Regions from separate parts of the Homo sapiens genome. Here regions 1, 2, 3 and 5 are each linked to region 4. Evidence: promoter capture Hi-C in 16 types of primary human blood cells and fetal thymus (Javierre and others, 2016). All regions are on one chromosome and are shown on one strand. The core of a region is centred on a gene start or on the middle of the fragment in contact, and the rest is flanking DNA. Distances in the headings are between cores, read along the strand shown.

Evidence for each region. The method cuts DNA at HindIII sites, captures the fragments that hold promoters and counts their contacts. A CHiCAGO score of 5 or more calls a contact.
Region 1: a contact is called between a fragment that was not itself captured here and the fragment with the promoter of FBXO7 in region 4, in 1 of 17 cell types (megakaryocytes). The highest score is 5.3, in megakaryocytes.
Region 2: a contact is called between a fragment that was not itself captured here and the fragment with the promoter of FBXO7 in region 4, in 1 of 17 cell types (naive CD8 T cells). The highest score is 6.3, in naive CD8 T cells.
Region 3: a fragment that was not itself captured here is called in contact with the fragment with the promoter of FBXO7 in region 4 in 12 of 17 cell types (naive CD4 T cells, naive CD8 T cells, total CD8 T cells and 9 more); the score reaches 10.9 in naive CD4 T cells.
Region 5: a fragment that was not itself captured here is called in contact with the fragment with the promoter of FBXO7 in region 4 in 1 of 17 cell types (megakaryocytes); the score reaches 7.4 in megakaryocytes.

What each region holds. Positions count from the first base shown.
Region 1 is chr22:33,034,841-33,038,317 of GRCh38, forward strand. All of the region lies in intron 1 of SYN3 (synapsin III), which reads right to left. Among named protein-coding and RNA genes, the nearest start is that of SYN3, 22 kb to the right of the region's middle. The HindIII fragment of the contact is 1,670 bases long and covers 1,092-2,761 here.
Region 2 is chr22:31,934,325-31,938,008 of GRCh38, forward strand. It overlaps YWHAH-AS1 (YWHAH antisense RNA 1), which reads right to left. Exons shown (of 3, transcript NR_171018.1): 2 at 3,592-3,684; 3 at 1-125. Among named protein-coding and RNA genes, the nearest start is that of YWHAH, 8.4 kb to the right of the region's middle. The HindIII fragment of the contact is 4,105 bases long and covers 1-3,684 here.
Region 3 is chr22:31,958,748-31,962,241 of GRCh38, forward strand. No RefSeq gene overlaps it. Among named protein-coding and RNA genes, the nearest start is that of LINC02558, 10 kb to the right of the region's middle. The HindIII fragment of the contact is 3,046 bases long and covers 93-3,138 here.
Region 4 is chr22:32,472,682-32,476,244 of GRCh38, forward strand. It overlaps FBXO7 (F-box protein 7), which reads left to right and starts at 2,130. Exons shown (of 9, transcript NM_012179.4): 1 at 2,130-2,443. The coding sequence starts at 2,322. RefSeq lists enhancers at 1,105-1,164, 1,890-2,390, 2,053-2,222, 2,391-2,891, 2,477-2,646 and silencers at 2,211-2,400, 2,411-2,720. The HindIII fragment of the contact is 4,456 bases long and covers 1-3,563 here.
Region 5 is chr22:33,018,106-33,021,795 of GRCh38, forward strand. All of the region lies in intron 1 of SYN3 (synapsin III), which reads right to left. Among named protein-coding and RNA genes, the nearest start is that of SYN3, 38 kb to the right of the region's middle. The HindIII fragment of the contact is 2,293 bases long and covers 392-2,684 here.

The DNA.
Region 1 (3,477 bases), core at 677-3,176, 560 kb after region 4:
CAGCCCTTCAACCACTATGATATCCTGGTCTGCTGCCCGGCCCTTGTGTCTCCTCTCCTGGTGCCAAGATCAATAGGGTTCTCTTTGATACCTGATGCCTTCTGGGCAGGACTCTGTGGCAGCCACTGCAGTGCCCTTCACCTTGGGAGCCCAATCTGGTCACTGGCTCAGAAAATTCCATAAACAGCAGGCTCAGTGGCAAGTATGGGGACACGTTCCCCATTTGTAGGCTAGCAACAGGCAGCTTTACTGCTGAAGGAAAGGAGTGGGGTGGGCATATTGTCACTAAAGGAAGCTGGGCGGTCACCAGCACTGGCTTTCTATGCGACAGTAACAATGATAATGATGACGATGATAGTAATAATAATAATAATAGCAGCTATTCATTTAACATTTCCTAAGTGCTAGGTACTATTTTAAACTTTGTTCATATATTAAACCAATTAATCCTAACAGTTGTAGGTGGAAAGAAAAATTAAAAATCTCGGGACCCCCCCCCCCCCCGCCACCAAACTTCTTATGCAAAAGGGACAGTTAAGCCCAGAAGCTGAGTCATTGCAACACCCTCTTCCAAATGAATAGCTGTTACATTATGCATCAGCCAGGTCCCCGTGGAAAGGTGGAAGGCCTCAGGCATCTGCAAAGGACTGCCCCCAAAGATCATTCAAAAGTGACCTTGGCTGCCCTCCCATAAACAAGGACGTGCCAAATGTAACTTTAGGTCTACGATCTAAATCAAGGTCTTTATTTTTATTTGAGACACGGTCTTGCCCTGTCACCCAGGCTGGAGTGCAGTAGCACGATCACAGCTGACTGCAGACTCATACTCCTGGAGTCAAGTGATCCTCCCACATCAGCATCCTGAGTAGCTAGAACTATAGGCACGTACCACAAGGCCCAGATAATTTTTCATTTTTTATTGTGGAGACAGGGGTCTTGATATGTTGCCTAAGCTGGTCTCAAACTCCTGGCCTCAAGTGATCCTCCTGCCTTCTGTCTACCAAAGTGTTGGGATTACAGGCATGAGCCACAGCACCAGCCTAAGTCTAGCTCTGATTCTACATTATAATAAGCTAATAACGTTGACTATAAGCTTATCTTCCCAGGTCCAGGACAAAGTCAAGACTCATTCTCCAACCACCCAGAGACATCCATAACTGACTCTTCCTTTACTCCTTTTTTCTCTTCATCATTCACCTTATCTTATGTAAAATGGAGATTTACCGGGCACTAAGGAAAGTCTCACAAGAGTATAAGCATTTGCCTTACCGCCTACCTGCCCCTCTTCCTACATGCCTTCCTCCTCTTTAAGAAAATGTATAAAGACTAAATTTCCTGAAAACCTCCTCGGAAAAGCAGCCTCAGATGTGTCTGTGGCTTATGTTTTTCCCAGACGTGCCCTGAAGCTGCCTTCATAAACCTCGATGATTGAGACTTATGCTTCAGTCACTCATTTCAGTTGTCATAGGGGACCAGAATACGCTATCCCAAAATATACCACTTTGGCATAAGGATTATTTTGAGCTGAAGGCAGTTGAGAAGAAGCAGATATAAGAAAAGCTCTCTGCCCTCCCTGTGTTTGCCTAAAAGCAGGACAGAAATTTGCAAAGCTGATCCCCTAAACCTCCAGCAGAAAGGACAGAAATTAATCACTGATAACTTTAAACCCTCATCAGCCCAAGGCACCAGAGGCATCTATATAACGAACTTTACTGGCTTCTATCAGCTTCCCCATATATTTACTTTCCACAATTTGCTGCCCTGGAAATTCAAAATCCTTTTCTTTGTCTTGTCCCTTGTCTAAAAAAATTTTTTTAAATGCTGTAAAGCCCAAGTTCTTTTTTTTTTTTTTTTTTTTTTTTTTTTTTGAGACAGAGTTGCGCTCTTGTTGCCCAGGCTGGAGGGCAATGCCGCGATCTCGGCCCACCACAACCTCCGCCTCCCAGGTTCAATTGATTCTCCTGCCTCAGCCTCCTGAGTAGCTGGGATTACAAGTATGCACCACCACACCAGGCTAATTTTGTATTTTTAGTAGAGACGGGGTTTCTCCATGTCGGTCAGGCTGGTCTTGAACTCCTGACCTCAGGTGATCCGCCCACCTCGGCCTCCCAAAGTGCTGGGATTATAGGCGTGAGCCATCATGCCCGGCCAAGCCCAAGTTCCAATCACCCCTTTGAGTTACTGAACTCCCAGCGCTTCCAAGTGTATGCACAGCTGCACTTAATAAATTAAGTATATGCACCTCATAAACTTCTGTTTGTTTTTCTCTTGTTAATCTTTCATTAGTTTATTTACAGGGCCGCAGCCAATGCACCTAAGACAAATAGCAGAAAAAGTGGGTTTTTTCCTCCCATGTATGGCAATCCTTTGTTATTATCTCTGCTTCACATATGGAGAAAACTAAGGCTCAGAAAGGTGGCGTCACTTGCCCGCTTGCTGCCCAGATTTTTTGGGCCCAGATGTTCTGGCTCCAAAGTCTGAGCTCCTTTCTCCCCATACAACCTACCACTGGGCTTCTTTCCTCATTTGAAATTGAGGGGCTCAGTCCTGAAGAACTCAGGTGCCTATCTTGATTCTCACTTTCAAGAGCAAGAACCAGACCCAGAAAAGTATTTTATTTCTCTGCTTTCCTTTATCCTGATTTCTAATAGTGTTTGTCAAACTATATTAATCATAGTCTGTTGCATTCTTGTACATGCCAGGCACTTGGCTAGGCAGTTTCCCTGCACTCTCTCTAGTGTTTCCAGCAATCCAATGAAGAAGCTTCTGTTATCCTGATTTTACGCTGAAGCATCCGAGACTCAGAAAGGTTCGGTAATTTGCCTAAGGTAACCCAGTGAAGAAGCCACTGGTGGGACTGCAGAGTCTAGAACTAACAGGCTTTTAACTACCACTCCTGCCTGCTTGCCTGTGTCTTCTCCCCACATTCCCACAGTGTCTGAGCTCCTCCAGAGGGAAAGGAAGGTGTTACCTGCACCTCCAGCTCTAGCAAGAGGCTGAGAAAATGCTAGATGGATTAATACTGAATTAACAAATAAGTAGATGAAAGGCAGGAAAGAAAAGGAGAAGAAAGAGAAAAAGAAAGGTAAAAATTAGGATGGAAGAAAGTAAAGAAGAAAAATGCAGTGAATGAATAAAATAAGAATGCATGAAGTTAAAAAAAAAAAGGAATAAAAACAAAAGATCGAGAAAATGAAACCAGAAAAAAGAACTAGATTAAAAGAATACCCAGGCAATCCGGTGCCCTGCTGGCTCTCTTTCTCATCAGGGGCTGCTGCCTCCCAGGCTCCCCACCAAAAGCTGCTTCCTGAGCCCTGGGAAGTGGCTGGGATTTTGCCAAACAGCAGTAATGCCCCCTTAGGCCAGGCACCAGGATCCCTAAGGTTGATGGCACGCCATAGGCAGAGGGAAGCAGAGCCTTCACATCCTGGCATCAGATTCCACCAAAAGATCCCTAGCTGCTGTCACTTGCAGGCA
Region 2 (3,684 bases), core at 646-3,145, 540 kb before region 4:
TGCATAGTGGTGCTCCCTGTGTGATTGAAGAAAGGGAGAAATCCAGCTCTGTGGGCTAGGGCAGGTGCCCACTCCAGCGTGAGGCCAAGGGATCCTTCCAAAAGAAGTCAGGTTGATACTGAAACCTGAAGAAGAAGCCCAAGTTAGGTAGGGAAAGAGGAGGGGTGAGAGAATAGACATAGAGAATACCTTTCGAGGTCGGATCCTGGTTCTACCTGTTCGTAGACATTTATCTACAAATTAGGTTCCCACCACGCAGGGCTGTTGTGAGGACTAAATGAAGCCATTGCTAGTGACAGCACAGGCTGGATGCATAGTGAGGTGCCCAGTGGGAGCTCATGGGTAGCTGCTGTGAAAATAGCTCTGGGCCACACATGGTGGCTCACACCTGTAATCCCAGCACTTTGGGAGGCTGAGGCGAGAGGATCACTTGCATCTAGGAGTTCAATACCAGCCAAGGCAACATACTGAGACCCTGTCTCTACAAAAAATAGAAAATTAGCCAGGCGTAGTGGTGCACACCTGTAGTCAGTCCCAACTACTTGGGAGGCTGAAGTGGGAGGATCACTTGAGTCCAGGAGGTCAAGGCTGCAGTGAGCCAGGATTGCACCACTGCACTCAGCCTGGGTGACCCAGGAAGACCTTGTCTAAAAAAAAAAAAAAAAAAAAAGGAAGGAAAGGAAAGAAAAGAAAGGGAAGTAAGGATGGAAGGAAGGAAAGAAAAAGAAAGAGAGAGAGAGAGAGAAAGGAAAAGAAAAGAAATAGTCTGTGTCTTACATGATTCCTTTGCACTGCCAGGAATTCTTGCTCCCATTTTGTAAGCAGAGAATATACTGAGGCTCAGAGAGGTCAGAGAGGTGACCCGACATGGCCAGGGTTATACTGTGGATTAGACCCCAGGTTGGACATGTGACCCTAGGCTCTGACTTGGGCTTTTTGCCATACTCCATCCACAGGCAACCCAAGCAATTATTTCAGCTCAGTGAGATACGGAATCCCACCAGTGATTCCCAGTATGAGTTCCTTGGCTGCATGTTCAAGGGTAGTCTCAGCCTTCTTTGTGATAAGGCCACAGCTGTCTGATGATTAGCCCAGGGTTGGGCTTTGGGAGGCCTGGGCATAGGCTTGATTTCGCTAACCTGCTGTGTGACCATGGGTGAATTACTTTCCCTCTCTGAGCCTCAGTTCCCACAGGGCCAGCGAATGACCAGCTGTTATTGTCTGGGTCTCTGATCCTCCCAGTAGTGCTGTGGCAAAGGAACTACTTTGAATTTCATATTAAAAATGAAGAACCCGGACAGGCGCGATGGCTCACGCCTGTAATCCCAGCACTTTGGGAGGCTGAGGCAGGTGGATCACTTGAGGTCAGGAGTTCAAGACCAGCCTAGCCAACATGGTGAGACCACGTCCATACAAAAAACACAAAAATTAGCCAGGCATGGTGGTACGTGCCTGTAATCCCAGCTACTCAGGAGGCTGGGGCAAGAGAATTGCTTGAATCTGGGAGGCGGAGTTTGCAGTGAGCTGAAATCACGCCACTGTACTCCAGCCTGGGCAACATGCGAGACACTGTCTCAAAAAAAAAAAAAAAAAAAGATAAGGAACCAGCGGTCTGAGACCGACAAAGTGGCATGCACAAGGCTACACAATTAGCAAGTGGGGCCCAGGATTTGGGAACAACCCGTTGCTGGCAGAGCTTCCCATCAGTCCACCATGCTGTGCTGCCTCTTGGAGTAAGAAAGCCAAACTGAATTGTCTCCAAGATCTTTATTATGGGTCTGTGATTCTGTGAGTTCCCTGCTGCCCCAGGCCTTCAGGGCTCAATGACTTCATGGGGAAGCCATTTCAGGTTGTGCTGGTCCTCCAACTGTCCCCATTTCAAGTAGGTAACATCCCCGTAGGCAGCACTCCCTCCCTCCCTCAGACACAACCTCATTCCTCCTGAATGAAGAGGTCTAGTGAGGACAGGGACATGCCCTTTTTATTCTCCCCCCACTGCACCGCCCACTCACCCTGACATGCCCATTTTATGGAAAAGAAAACTGAAACTCAGGTCCAACAACTTGCCCAGGTTTCCCCAGTTACTATGGAAGAGCTAGGATTTGAGGCTGGGTCTGGTAACTCCAGATCTTGTACTCTAAGTAACTGCAAGCTGGCCAGATTCAGCAGGACAGCCCTCCTCCTCCTCTGAGCTCCCTCCCGGCTTCTGCAATCCTGCCTGCCTTCCCCCTTGCTCCCTCCCTCTTCTTGCCTTTCACTCAGCTGTCACTTAATGTTAGCTGTCAGCTGATTTCAGGTGTTCCCCTTCCTGGGGTGGAAGGGGAGAGGACCAAAGATCTTGGCCATTCACAAAGGGGGCTCTGGTGATGGGAGTTTTGTAATACGCAGAAGGTGTAACCAAATTCAATTCAGCATTCATGGAGCAGCGCCTGGATCCAGGACACTCAGCCAGGCATCCCAGGGACTCAGATGGTGAATGAAACACAGGCCCCATTCTCCAGTGCTTACAGTCTATTACAAAGGAAATGGCTGCTTCCTAAGGAAGTGGGAAGCAGAAGGTATAAGTAACAAAGAGTGTGAACCTTATAGTCAGAAAGACCTGGGTTCAAATCCTAATTCTTCATCTAATAGCAGCATGACTTTGGGTAAGAGGATGCCTTCCTGAGCTTTAATTTTTCCATCTGTTTAATGGGTGTAAGAAGAATAGCTCCCATATTAAATGAGATCTTATACTGCATTAAATGACATAACAAAGTGCTTGATGCCCAGTAGCAAGCCACAGACATTCCTACCAATGTCACTCTAGGCAGACAGTGGATACCAGAGTCACAGTGGGAGTAGGTGGAAGGCGAGAGTACTTCTTGTTGGAGAAACTGGGAAGGCTCTTTAGGGGAGGTAAGATTTCGGCTGGGTATTAAAGGAATGTAAGAAGAAGAGAATGGGGTGGAGGGATGGGAAAGGACATTCTGGAAACTCATGGGCAGAATCTGGGAACCTGGTGGGCCTAATGTGTCCAGGGAGTGGGTGATGACCTTGAGAAGATGGGCCACGGGCAGGTTATGAAGGGCCAGGTAGAGGAAGTTATATCTTTAACGAGGGAATGGATCCTACCCACGACCCCAGGGGCAGCTCAGTGCTGTCTCTGCAGAAGCCAGCCAGCCTCCTACAGGAGTTGGCCTTCTCATGTGGCTGTGGTCCTCTCAGATCCCTTTATCTCCTGAGTCAGGGCCAGCCTGCCACCATTATCTACAAGAAGACAGAAGGCTATAACAATCTGCTTGCCTCCTACTAACATACTGGGGAGGAAAAGATGTTTTTTAGCATAGTTGCCTGGCAGAGAACCATGGTGAAAATTCAGTGACCCTCTCCCTTGCTTCTCAGGGTACAGTTTCAGCAGCAGCTGATGACAGTTATGCTCATAGCTCAACAGCTACAAGAATGTTCTCAGACTCTCTGAAGGTCAGGGGCAGTGGTGGGAAGAATGGTGAAGATGGAGCAGAGCCCCTGCTCTCTGTGCTGTGGCTGGGCAAGACACTTAACCTCCCTGGGACTCAGTTTCCTCATCTGTAAAATCAAAACAATAATACTGACCTTGCCTTAACCAAGAGACAGCGTAGTAGCAAACTGCTGGCCCACAGCCTGCTATGAAGTAGGAGTTCATTACCTTCTTCGCTCCAGGTCTTG
Region 3 (3,494 bases), core at 366-2,865, 510 kb before region 4:
TCAGGAAGCCTGTTTCAAGTTGACCTAATTTTAAGATAAAGTGGTTATTGAGTTTCACTTCAGTTAGTAGGTCAGGTATTTGAAAGTCAACAAGCTTTATATGGCTAATACTTGCTTTTGATAAGCACGTAGACAAAATGTTGCTGGGCCATGGTGGCGTGCGCCTGTAGTCCCAGCTGCTTGGGAGGATGGAGCCCGGGAGGTCGAGGCTGCGGTGAGCCGTGATTGCTCCACTGTACCCCAGCCTGGGAGATAGGAAGACCTTTTTTTCTCTCTCTCTCTGTCTCTGATAGCAAGACCTCTCTCTCTCTCTCTTTTCTCTCTCTGTCTCTCTCTCTCTCACACACACACACAAAGGGCTCTTACATTTTCTTTTTTTGTTTGAGATGGGAGTCTCACTCTTGTCACCCAGGCTGGAGTGCAATGGCACGATCTCAGCTCACTGCAACCTTTGCCTCCCAGGTTCAAGTGATTCTCCTGCCTCAGCCTCCTGAGTAGCTGGGATTACAGGCACCCACTGTCGTGCCCGGCTAATTTTGGTATTTTTGTGGAGATGGGGTTTCACCATGTTGGCCAGGCTGGTCTTGAACTCCTGACCTCAAGTGATCCTCCCACCTCAGCCTCTCAAAGTGCTGGGATTACAGGCATGAGCCACTGTGCCCGGTCGCTTTTACATTTGAAATGTCCTTTGCAGTTGCTAAAGCATTCACATTTACGTTTTACAGCTGTCTTCTGAAAGGTTTTGTCCCACTTTACAGATGAGGAAGCTAAAGTGCAAAGGTTGTGGATCTCTGGAATTTATACAGCTGGTAAGCTAGAGGACAGCTTCCACCCAAGATTTATTCAGAATTTTAACGGCCCTCTGGGGGGCCTGGGGAACCTTGGCAAGCCATGCCACCTTTGAGGTTCAGGTCCCTCATTTTTTAAGTGTAGGATTTGGGTTATGTTTTAATCTAAGTTCATGGTGTGTAAGGCACCTTCTTTGGGAATGAGGTATGGGGAAGTATGGACATACGTGATTAATGTTAGCCACATAGGTCGCGTGCAGTGGCTCATGCCTGTAATCCCAGTACTTTGGGAGGCTGAGGTGGGTGGATCACTTGAGGTTAGGAGTTCGAGACCAGTCTGACCAATATGGTGAAACCCCGCCTCTACTAAAAATACAAAAATTAGCTGGGTGTGGTGGCTGGTGCCTGTAATCCCAGCTACGATGGAGGCTGAGGCAGGAGAATCACTTGAACCCAGGAGGCGGAGGTTGCAGGGAGCCGAGATTGTCCCACTGCACTCCAGCCTGGGCAACAGAGTGAGACTCGGTTTCAAAAAAAAGAAAGAAAAGGAGGTTAGCCACATAAATAATAGATGAGGCTCTTTGAAAGGACCTAAGAGGGTGCTGTAAATTACATGTGATGTAAGCCTGGAAGTCTTCACTGCTGCATATTTTTTCCCCAATTCTACTTAAAACGTTTTAAAACTTGTCAAGATAACTTTCTCAAATCGTTAAGAAGGGGTCATCTCAATGTTACAGCATGAGAAATTAAAGTCCAGAGAAATGAAATAGCTTTCTAGGTCATGGCAAAATTGGTGCATCTGGAGTAGCATTCAGATCCCGAATCCTTGTCCCTGGTTCTCTTAACTGCCATGCTCTTTGGGTTGAGACTAGAAAGAAAATGGATACAACACATTTCACCCTTAGGAGACTTTCAGTGTTTTTAATGTTTTCACTTAGAATGGAAGAAATTATACTTGAAAAGGGATGTTTAAATTTATTGATGTTGGCTGGGCGCGGTGGCTCACGCCTGTAATCCTAGCAGTTTGGGAGGCCGAGGTGGGCGGATCACCTGAGGTCAGGAGTTCGAGACCAGCCTGACCAACATGGAGAAACCCCATCTCTAGTAAAAATGCAAAATTAGCCGGGCATGGAGGCGCATGCCTGTAATTCCAGCTACTCAGCAGGCTGAGGCAGGAGAATCGCTTGAACCTGCGAGGCAGAGGTTGCGGTGAGCCGAGATCGCGCTATTGCACTCCAACCTGGGCAACAAGAGCAAAAACTCCGTCCCCGCCCCCCCCCCCCCCCCAGAAAAAATTATTGTTGCTATTGCTTCAGATTTCCAGTAGCTCCTCAAACCCTGCTCAAAAGTCCATTTCTTTGAGTTGGGGGAAGGGGTAGGATTCTTGATAATGAAGCTATTGTTGGGTAAATTCTTGGCCGTCCTTAAATCCTTCGGGATCAGGGAGCTAGGATTCCTCTTGGCTCTGTAAGATTAAATAGGCTGTGCGTGGGCCATCAGGCCCTCCATACCTTCCTCCCATACACCCTTAGAATCTGCCATCCAGAGACTGAGAGGGTCCTCATCTTAGCAGATGTGACTATCAGGCAAGCACAAACACTATGATTCAGAGCTGGGTGTGACTTAACAGGTCTTCTTTCATTATAAAACCCAATCATTAGACTGGCTAATAAAAATTACCATCTCAAATACTTACTGTGTCTTGGGTACTTTGAATGCATGGTCTCTGAATCTTTACAGCAGCCTTAGCAGTGAGGAATGTTAATATTTTTAACACATGAGGAAACCAGGTATTCGGTGATGTAACGTGCATAGCTAGTAAGAGGCAAGGTTGAGATTGAAATGGGCTGTCTTACTTTAAGGTTCTTTCCACTACGCCATGGATATTTTGATCCCCAACTAGAGAAAAGGAGTCCTAGAAATGTTATAACAAGCCTGGCAAGGTGGTTTACACCTGTAATCCCAGTACTTTAGGAGGCCGAGGTGGGAGGAGGATTGCTTGAGTCCGGGAGTTTGAGACCAGCCCGAGCAACACAGTAAAACCCCATCTGTACTAAAAGTACAAAAATTTAGCCAGCTGTGTTGTTGCATGCCTGTAGTCCCACCTATTTGAGAGGCTGAGGTGGGAGGATTGCTTGGTCCTGGGAGGTTGAGGCTGCAGTGAGCCCTGATTACACCACTGCACTCCAGCCTGGGTGACAGCCTGTCTCAAGCAAACAAACAAACCTGAAGGAATCTATTGTCAAATTCATTTCCCAAAGTTCTACTCCCATGCCATTCTGTACTAGGAAGGGGAGGGGAAATAACATTTGCTGTCTTTTGTGAGCTAGTCAGTCACCCTGCTAAGTGAAGCTTTATGTACATTTTTATTTTTTTATTATTATTTTTGAGACAAGAGTTTCACTCTGTTGCCCAGGCTAGAGTGCAGTGGCACACTCTCAGCTCACTGCAATGTCCACCTCCCAGGTTCAAGCGATTCTCCTGCCTCAGCCTCCTGAGTAGCTGAGACTACAGGTGCATGGCACCACACCTGGCTAATTTTTGTATTTTTAGTAGAGACAGGGTTTCACCATGTTGGCCAGGCTGCTCTCCAACTCCTCACCTCAAGTGATCCTCCTGCCTCAGCCTCCCAAAGTGCTGGGATTACAGGCATAAGCCATTGCGCCCAGCCTACATTTTTTTTTTTTTTTTGAGACGGAGTCTCTC
Region 4 (3,563 bases), core at 880-3,379:
AGCCAATCAAGACAAATACAAAATATAAAGTCCCATTCCAGCCAATAAAAACCAGACACAGGCCAGGCGCGGTGGCTCACGCCTGTAATCCCAGCACTTTGGGAGGCCGAGGCGGGCGGATCAGGTCAGGAGATCGAGACCATCCTGGCTAACACGGTGAAACCCCATCTCCACTAAAATAATAATAAAATAATAATAATAATAATAATAATAATAATAATAATAATAATACAAAAATTAGCCAGGTGTGGTGGCGGGTGCCTGTAGTCCCAGCTACTCGGGAGGCTGAGGCAGGAGAATGGCGTGAACCCAGGAGGCGGAGCTTGCAGTGAGCCGAGATCACGCCACTGCACTCCAGCCTGGGCGACAGAGCGCGACTCCATCTCAAACAACAACAACAACAAAAAAAAACAAAAACAAACAAAAAACCAGACACAGCAGTAAAGTGGACACATCAGGTTATATATGACCCTGTCTCCTTTGTTCGGTGTACTCTCGTGACAAAACTGCTGGCGAGTATACCCTTTCTACAAAAAATAAAAATGGCCTTGCTAAAAAAATTAAATTTATATTCAAGTGCTATTTCTTTACAACATCAAAAAACAAACATTTCTAACAATCCCATTCCTCAGGTCTGTATTTATGTCTATCATAAAGCAGAGACTTTTTACACTCTACTGAAAGAGCTGATTCACTCAACTGTAAACTTTGCATGGGCAGAAACATGTCTTTTTGGTCTCTTGAGTCTCCAGCATGTGGGGTATCTGTCACAAAGTAGGCAATCAATACATATTTATTTGCAGAATCAAGGGCAGGATGTGGACAAGTGCTGCCACCTATTGGGAGAAACTTTATTTGACTCTAAGGATTTGGACTATGGTTATCACACAAGGACGAAACTTGATACTCTCTCTCATCTAAGTTATCATTAGTTAGACCCTCTATGGTAGCCAGCCTCCAGGATGGCCCGCAGCGATCCCTGTCTGTTGGCATTCATACCTTTGGCTGGATCCTCTCACACATAGGGTTGGTTTGTAAATATGACAAAAGCCGTATGTGACCTCTGGAGCTAGGTCATAAAAGACATTGTGGCTTATACCTTGGTCTCTCTGGGATCACCTGCTCTGAAGGAAGCCAGCTGCCATGTCATGGGGACACTCAAACAGCCCTATGGGGAGGTTCACGTGGTGAAAACAGGTCTCTGGCCAACAGTCATGACTGTGCCATCCTGGAGGCCGATCCTCCAGCCCTAGTCAATAACTGCTGCCCTGGCCTACAGTTTGTAATCTCATGGGAGACCTGGAGACAGAACCACCCAGCCACGCATCCCCAAATCCCTTTACCTCTAAAACCTGTGGGACAACAAATGTTTATTGCGTTAAACTTTGGGGTGATTGTTATGCAGCCACAGAGTTCTAATAAACTGTCGGACATAGATTACTGGCTACAAATAGTTCTACTTTTTTTTTGAGACAGGGTCTCGTTCTGTGGAACCAGGCTGAGGTGCAGTGGTGCGATCACAGCTCATTGAGGCCTCGACCTCCGGGCTCAATCGACCCTCCCGCCTCAGCCACCCAACTAGCTGGGACTACAGGCAGGCGCCACCACACCTAATTTTTTGTATTTTTTGTAGAGATGGGGGGGGGGGTTTCACCATGTTGCCCAGGCTGGTCTCGAACTCCTGGGCTCAAACGATCCACCCGCCTCGGCCTCCCAAAGTGCTGGGATTACAGGCGTGAGCCACCGCGCCCGGCCAACCTAAGGATTAACCTAAGGCTTCTCAGAGCAGATGCCGCTGGAACTGAGGGCCACGGAAGAAAGGGGGTGACACTTGGTCCTGGGGAGTGGCGACTGTATTGTCTGTCTGCAGCATCCCTATCAGCGCTACCGTTGTTCCACGCACACAGGGAGTAAGTACTGGGAGTCCCAGCCACCGCCGCGGAAAATCTGGGATGCCAGCGAGCGGCCGCATCTCGGCGCCTGCGCACTGTGCCCGCGCTCTCAGGCAGCGCCGTTGCGCGCGGAGTCATCGATCGGCCGACCCCGAGAGGCCCGGTTCCTTTAGGCCGCCTGCCCGCCTCCAGCTCTCGGGGTCGGCTCCAGGAGGCGCCCTCAGGAGAGGGGCGGGCGCTCTATTCCAGAGACCGAGTGGCAGGGCGGCCACTGTGGCGGGGCTCTTTCCCCGTTTCGCCTCAGCTACCCCTCAGCTCCGGTAGTCGCCAGTCCGGGGTCGTCGCCGTTTGGGGCGGGAGCTGCTCGGCCCCGCCGCCGTCCCCGTCGCCGCTTCCGGGTCCAGGCCCCTCGGGCCGCCTGCCGCCGTCATGAGGCTGCGGGTGCGGCTTCTGAAGCGGACCTGGCCGCTGGAGGTGCCCGAGACGGAGCCGACGCTGGGGCATTTGCGCTCGCACCTGAGGCAGTCCCTGCTGTGCACCTGGGGGTACAGGTACGCTGGGGCCGGGGCTGGGCGGCCCGCGGGGAGTGGGGAGTGCTTGGGGTGGGTGCAGGGCGGGTTGGCGTCATCTGTGGGCTGCAGGCGCGGGCGTGGCCGGGCGATAGGCCAAGTGCGGGGACGCCGGGGGGGCCTTCACGGGAGGCCCGGGCTCTTCCGGGCGTCGCGGAGCCGGAGGGTGCAGGCGACGGGAAGCGCGGGTGGTCGGCTGGGGTCCGGCTCCTGGAGAACATGGCCCGGCCTCCCGGGGGCTCTGGTCCCCTCCTCGGTGAGTCATGGCTTCTGGTTTTGCAGTAAACGGAACCAGGGAGAGGAGGGAACGCACAATTTCCACAACTGGTTAGATTTCAAGTTGGAAATGATGAGCTTGGCTTGGGTTAAACCTTTCTGGACTGTGAGGGGTCCGAGTTAATTTCTTCAGCTGTTGGAGTATTTCAATGAAAAAGTTTGGAAATTGCTAGAAGTTAAAAATCTGCCCTCAATCCGAGGCCACCGGTAGCTTGTATCGCTGCTGTGAAGCGGCAACAATTTTAGATTCTGTTGTGTTCATGCGCCGAGCACCGCGGTGAGCGCTTGGACTTCGCCGCCGAAAAGTTTTAGAAAGGACAGCGTGTAGGCGTGTTTCAGACCATTTCATTTTCTTGGGTGAAATGTTGCTTTTTTGCTAAAACTGAGGCAAACGTTGATCTTGAGAGCTTGCAGTTTGGGGGCAGTAAAGTTGAGAAAGGATCATATTCTGTTATTGGTTTGTGGGACTGCAGGTGAAGCTGCTTTGTTTCCCTAAAAGATACTTTTTGGGGACAATAATTTGGGAGTAAAGCGGCAAGGTAAGAGTGGTCCTCTTCAAATACTGAGCTAGTGAATTTGAAACTTGAGTGTGCTAAGGAAAAATGAAAAAGATGTTCCCTGGGGATTTTTAGGTGAATTCTTCAAAACAAAAGCAAACCTTCCTACGTTTTCACCTTATTTTTAGGGAATTGGGTAAAATGAGGCCGTTATTCTGAACTTCTCGCCCTTTCATTTTCCTGGTTAAGACATTATTAGATTGAAAGTAAGCCTGTTTTCTTCCTGATTAAAAAAAAAACCCTAAATAAGATACTGACATAACTCCTTT
Region 5 (3,690 bases), core at 288-2,787, 540 kb after region 4:
GTCTACCTGGCCACTGTGTAGAAATAGACCTAGAGGATGTGTCTATGAAAGGAGCCAGACAGGTTAGAAGGCCGTTGTAGTCATTTTGGTCCACAGATGTGAAAGTGGGGAGCTGGATTATGTAATTTTCAAGGTCTTTTCCTCTTGAATCATTAGGACAGGACACAGGATATCGCTCCAATGCCAAACTTAATCTGATGGCAAGACAAGGTGCGGATGAGAGGGATTCTGGTGAAAGCCTAGGAAAAGACAGGAAGGCAGGGAAGACGGGCTGGGATAGAACCCAGTAGGCCCCGTGGGTACCCAGCCCCATGCTGCCCTAGCACTAACCACTAGAGGGCAGGAGTGACCAGACCAGACAGAAAAAGAGACTTTATAAGGCAAGTTTGCAAGCTTACTTCTTGGAGGCTGTGGCATGAAGAAAAACTTCACTGGGAAAGGTTAAATAAAGGATGAAAGACTTTCCATACTTGATGGTGAAGCCAGAACCAGAAGTAAGGTGAAAATCATAAGGATACGTTTTGCATCAAAGCAGGAGGAATGAGAGCTGCCCCACAGCGGCAACAGCTACTTTGAGAAGAGATGAGCCACTGATCAGCCTGGACAGGAGAGTGGACATGTCTGCTTGGGTGACTCATTGACACCCCAAACTTCTTTCCTTGCTCACCCTCAGATGAGTTTATGCACCTGGGTTCCCCACTTCCGGAACCCTGTGACCCATCCACTCACTGAGACCTGAACCTAAGTCTCACACTTTGCTCCTCCTTAACCCTGGTGAGTTTCAGCCACTCAATCTCCAAGTCCTGTCAACTCTGTCTCCACTAACATCTTCAGCATCATCCCCTCCTCTCCATCATTCCTACCATAGACTTGGTTCACGTGCTGCTAAAGCTCTCTCCCCTTGCCTATTACAACAGGCTCCTAATCAGCTCCCTCCCTCTAAGCTCAGTCATTCAGTCAACTTTCCACAGAGCAGAGAGAGCTTTCCAAACTACAACCCTAACCAGAGGAAGCCCCCTCGTGACTTTCCACATATCCCTAGGATAAAGGACACACTGTAACCCAGAAATACCTTAATCATTGCCATCTTCTTCAAGGTTTTCCTTGCTACTTTGGCCATGCAGGATGAAACTCTTCTAATGAGTCATGCTCTTCCAAAAGTCCATATCCTTTGTATATACTTTTCCCTCTGCCCGGAATACTGCATCTTATTCCCCTTTTCCTTCACTGCCTGGATACCTAGAGAGGCCATGAAACCTGTAACTGGGAGCACAGGTTTCAAAGGCAGACAGACTCTGGTTCCAATCCCAGCTCTGCCACTTACTCATGTAATATCTATGAGAGTTGGGGTGGCTTATTCAACCTCCGTGCCTCAGTTTCCTCATCTGTAAAACAGGAATAAAAAATAACGGCTACTTTACAAATTGATATGAACACTGAATGAGATAACTGATGTGACACAGTGCAAGGCCTGACATGTCAGGCACTACATGTACTAGCTCCTGCTGTTATTTATTTATTACAGTTGATTTTCTTGTTGTTGTTTGTTTTTGGTTTTGCTTTTGTTTTTGAGACTGGGTCTAGGCTGGAGTGCAGTGGCGCGATCTTGGCTCACTGCATCCTCCCGCCTCAGCCCCACAAGTAGCTGGGACTACAGGCACGTGCCACCACCCCCAGCTAATGTTTGTATTTTTTGTAGAGGAGGGGTTTCACCATGTTTCTCAGGCTGGTCTTCAACTCCTGAGTTCAAGTGCTTGGATTGTAGGCATGAGCCACCACGCCCAGCCCCATTGCTTATTCTTAGCAATCCACATGAAGCTACTGGGAAGATCAAATGAAAGAATGCACAGACGTGCTTTTGAAATAATGAATGATTATACAAATAATAGTAATGAAACATCGTTTTTAGTAGTGGTATCTTTACAATATCATCAGGATGCAGAATTGTTATTCCTGACTTCAACCATCCCTGAGAGTCATTAATGCTTAGAGACTCTGAACACAGAGGCCCCACAGTCACATAGAGGCCCCAAAGCATTTAACCAAACACCTTCAGATTTAATTCCTCCAGAGGAGAAGTATTCAGTTGAATAGTTAACCATGGAAACGTGTTTGTTCACATAGACCCAATCCTAGGAAAATGGAGAAAGTGGTGAGGTTTATTTCTGGATCCTGTACCTCTTTCAAAACCCATCTTCCTCACTTCTTCTTCTTCTCAATACCTCACCCCTAAGATCAGATCTCTTGGCAGGACCTTGTCATTGGAGCCTCTAATTCAGAGAAGCCTCAGGACATAGGAGATGGGGTATTTAAGAATAAGAGAGGGTGTCTGAAGAGGAGGACAGGCCAGATGCCCAGCCCAGAGTACCAGCACCTCAATACAATCACGCTATTAAAATGATTCTTCCAATGGTATAAGGTATAAGGCCTGAAAGCAATCTTTTTGCTCAGTCTTTAAGATTCACTGAGGTGACTCTATTGATGATACTTTGGGCACCATGACAAGCAAAAGGGGAGAAATTTCTTTTGCAAGATTGGGTCATACAAAAGGCCAACCTATACCACTTTGAAAACAAATCCTATATAAAAGGGACTCTTCAAGTGCAAGCCCCCTCCCAAACCCAGGCTAAGGACTACAATGGCCTCAGCACTCTGGTGCTGGACACAGGTAGACAGAGGCAGTAAGCTTGAAGGTTAAGTTCATGGATCCTGGGACCAGGTTGCTTGGGTTCCAATCCCAATTTTGCTATCTACCACCTACAAAGCCTCGAGAAAATTACTTAGCCTCTCTGTGCCTCAGTTTTCTTATCTGCAAAATGGGTATAATAGTACCTACCTCATAGAGTTCCTGCAACTTAACATATGCCAAGTATCTAAAACAGTGCTTGGCACATGGTAAACAATCTGTGTCAGCTGCTATTATTATTCCGATTTTTTTTTAGACAATGTGTTTCCCATTGCCAGAAAGTCTGACAGTGTGGTTAGTTTGGAAGGCAACACGGCAGGTGCAGTATTTACATGAGAATGAGCTTTGGCATGGATCTGACTTTGAGCCCCACCTCTGCCTCTTGCAGCTCAGTGACATCTAAGTCACGGGTTCTTCATCTGCAAAGTGGGGATACCAATACCCTGCCCTTCCTACTTCACAGGTCTTTGAGCAGACCAAAATCAAGTGCACTAAAGTGCTTTTCCAAATGTTTATTTTTTAAGTTAACATAGAATAAAATAGACTTTGGGGGTGTATAGTTCTATGAGTTTTAGCACATTCAGGGAACCACCACTACCAAGATATGGAAGAGTTCCATCACCCCCCATACAATTGCTTTTTAATCTTGATGACGTAGTGTTTCACAGCCTAACACCTGGCTCTCCTACAATGGTACATTAGATAAGAAATATTCAAGGCCTGGCACATTTCTTAGATAACAAAGAAAGAAGATGAATTCCAGTGATTGAACTTCCTGTGCATTAGTTGCCTTTGCACTGTCTGTTCCTTCATCTGGAACTCTCTGTCTACAGACACATGCGTGGCCCACCCACCTCTCCCTCAGGTCCTGCTGAAATGTCACATTCTCAGTGAAGCCTCCCCTCTGACTGCCACTGTCTGGTACTTTGGATCCTACTTGTTCTTTTTTTCCATAGCATGCACCATCTTCTATAAACTATATACTGTAACTTATTTTTTTTTTT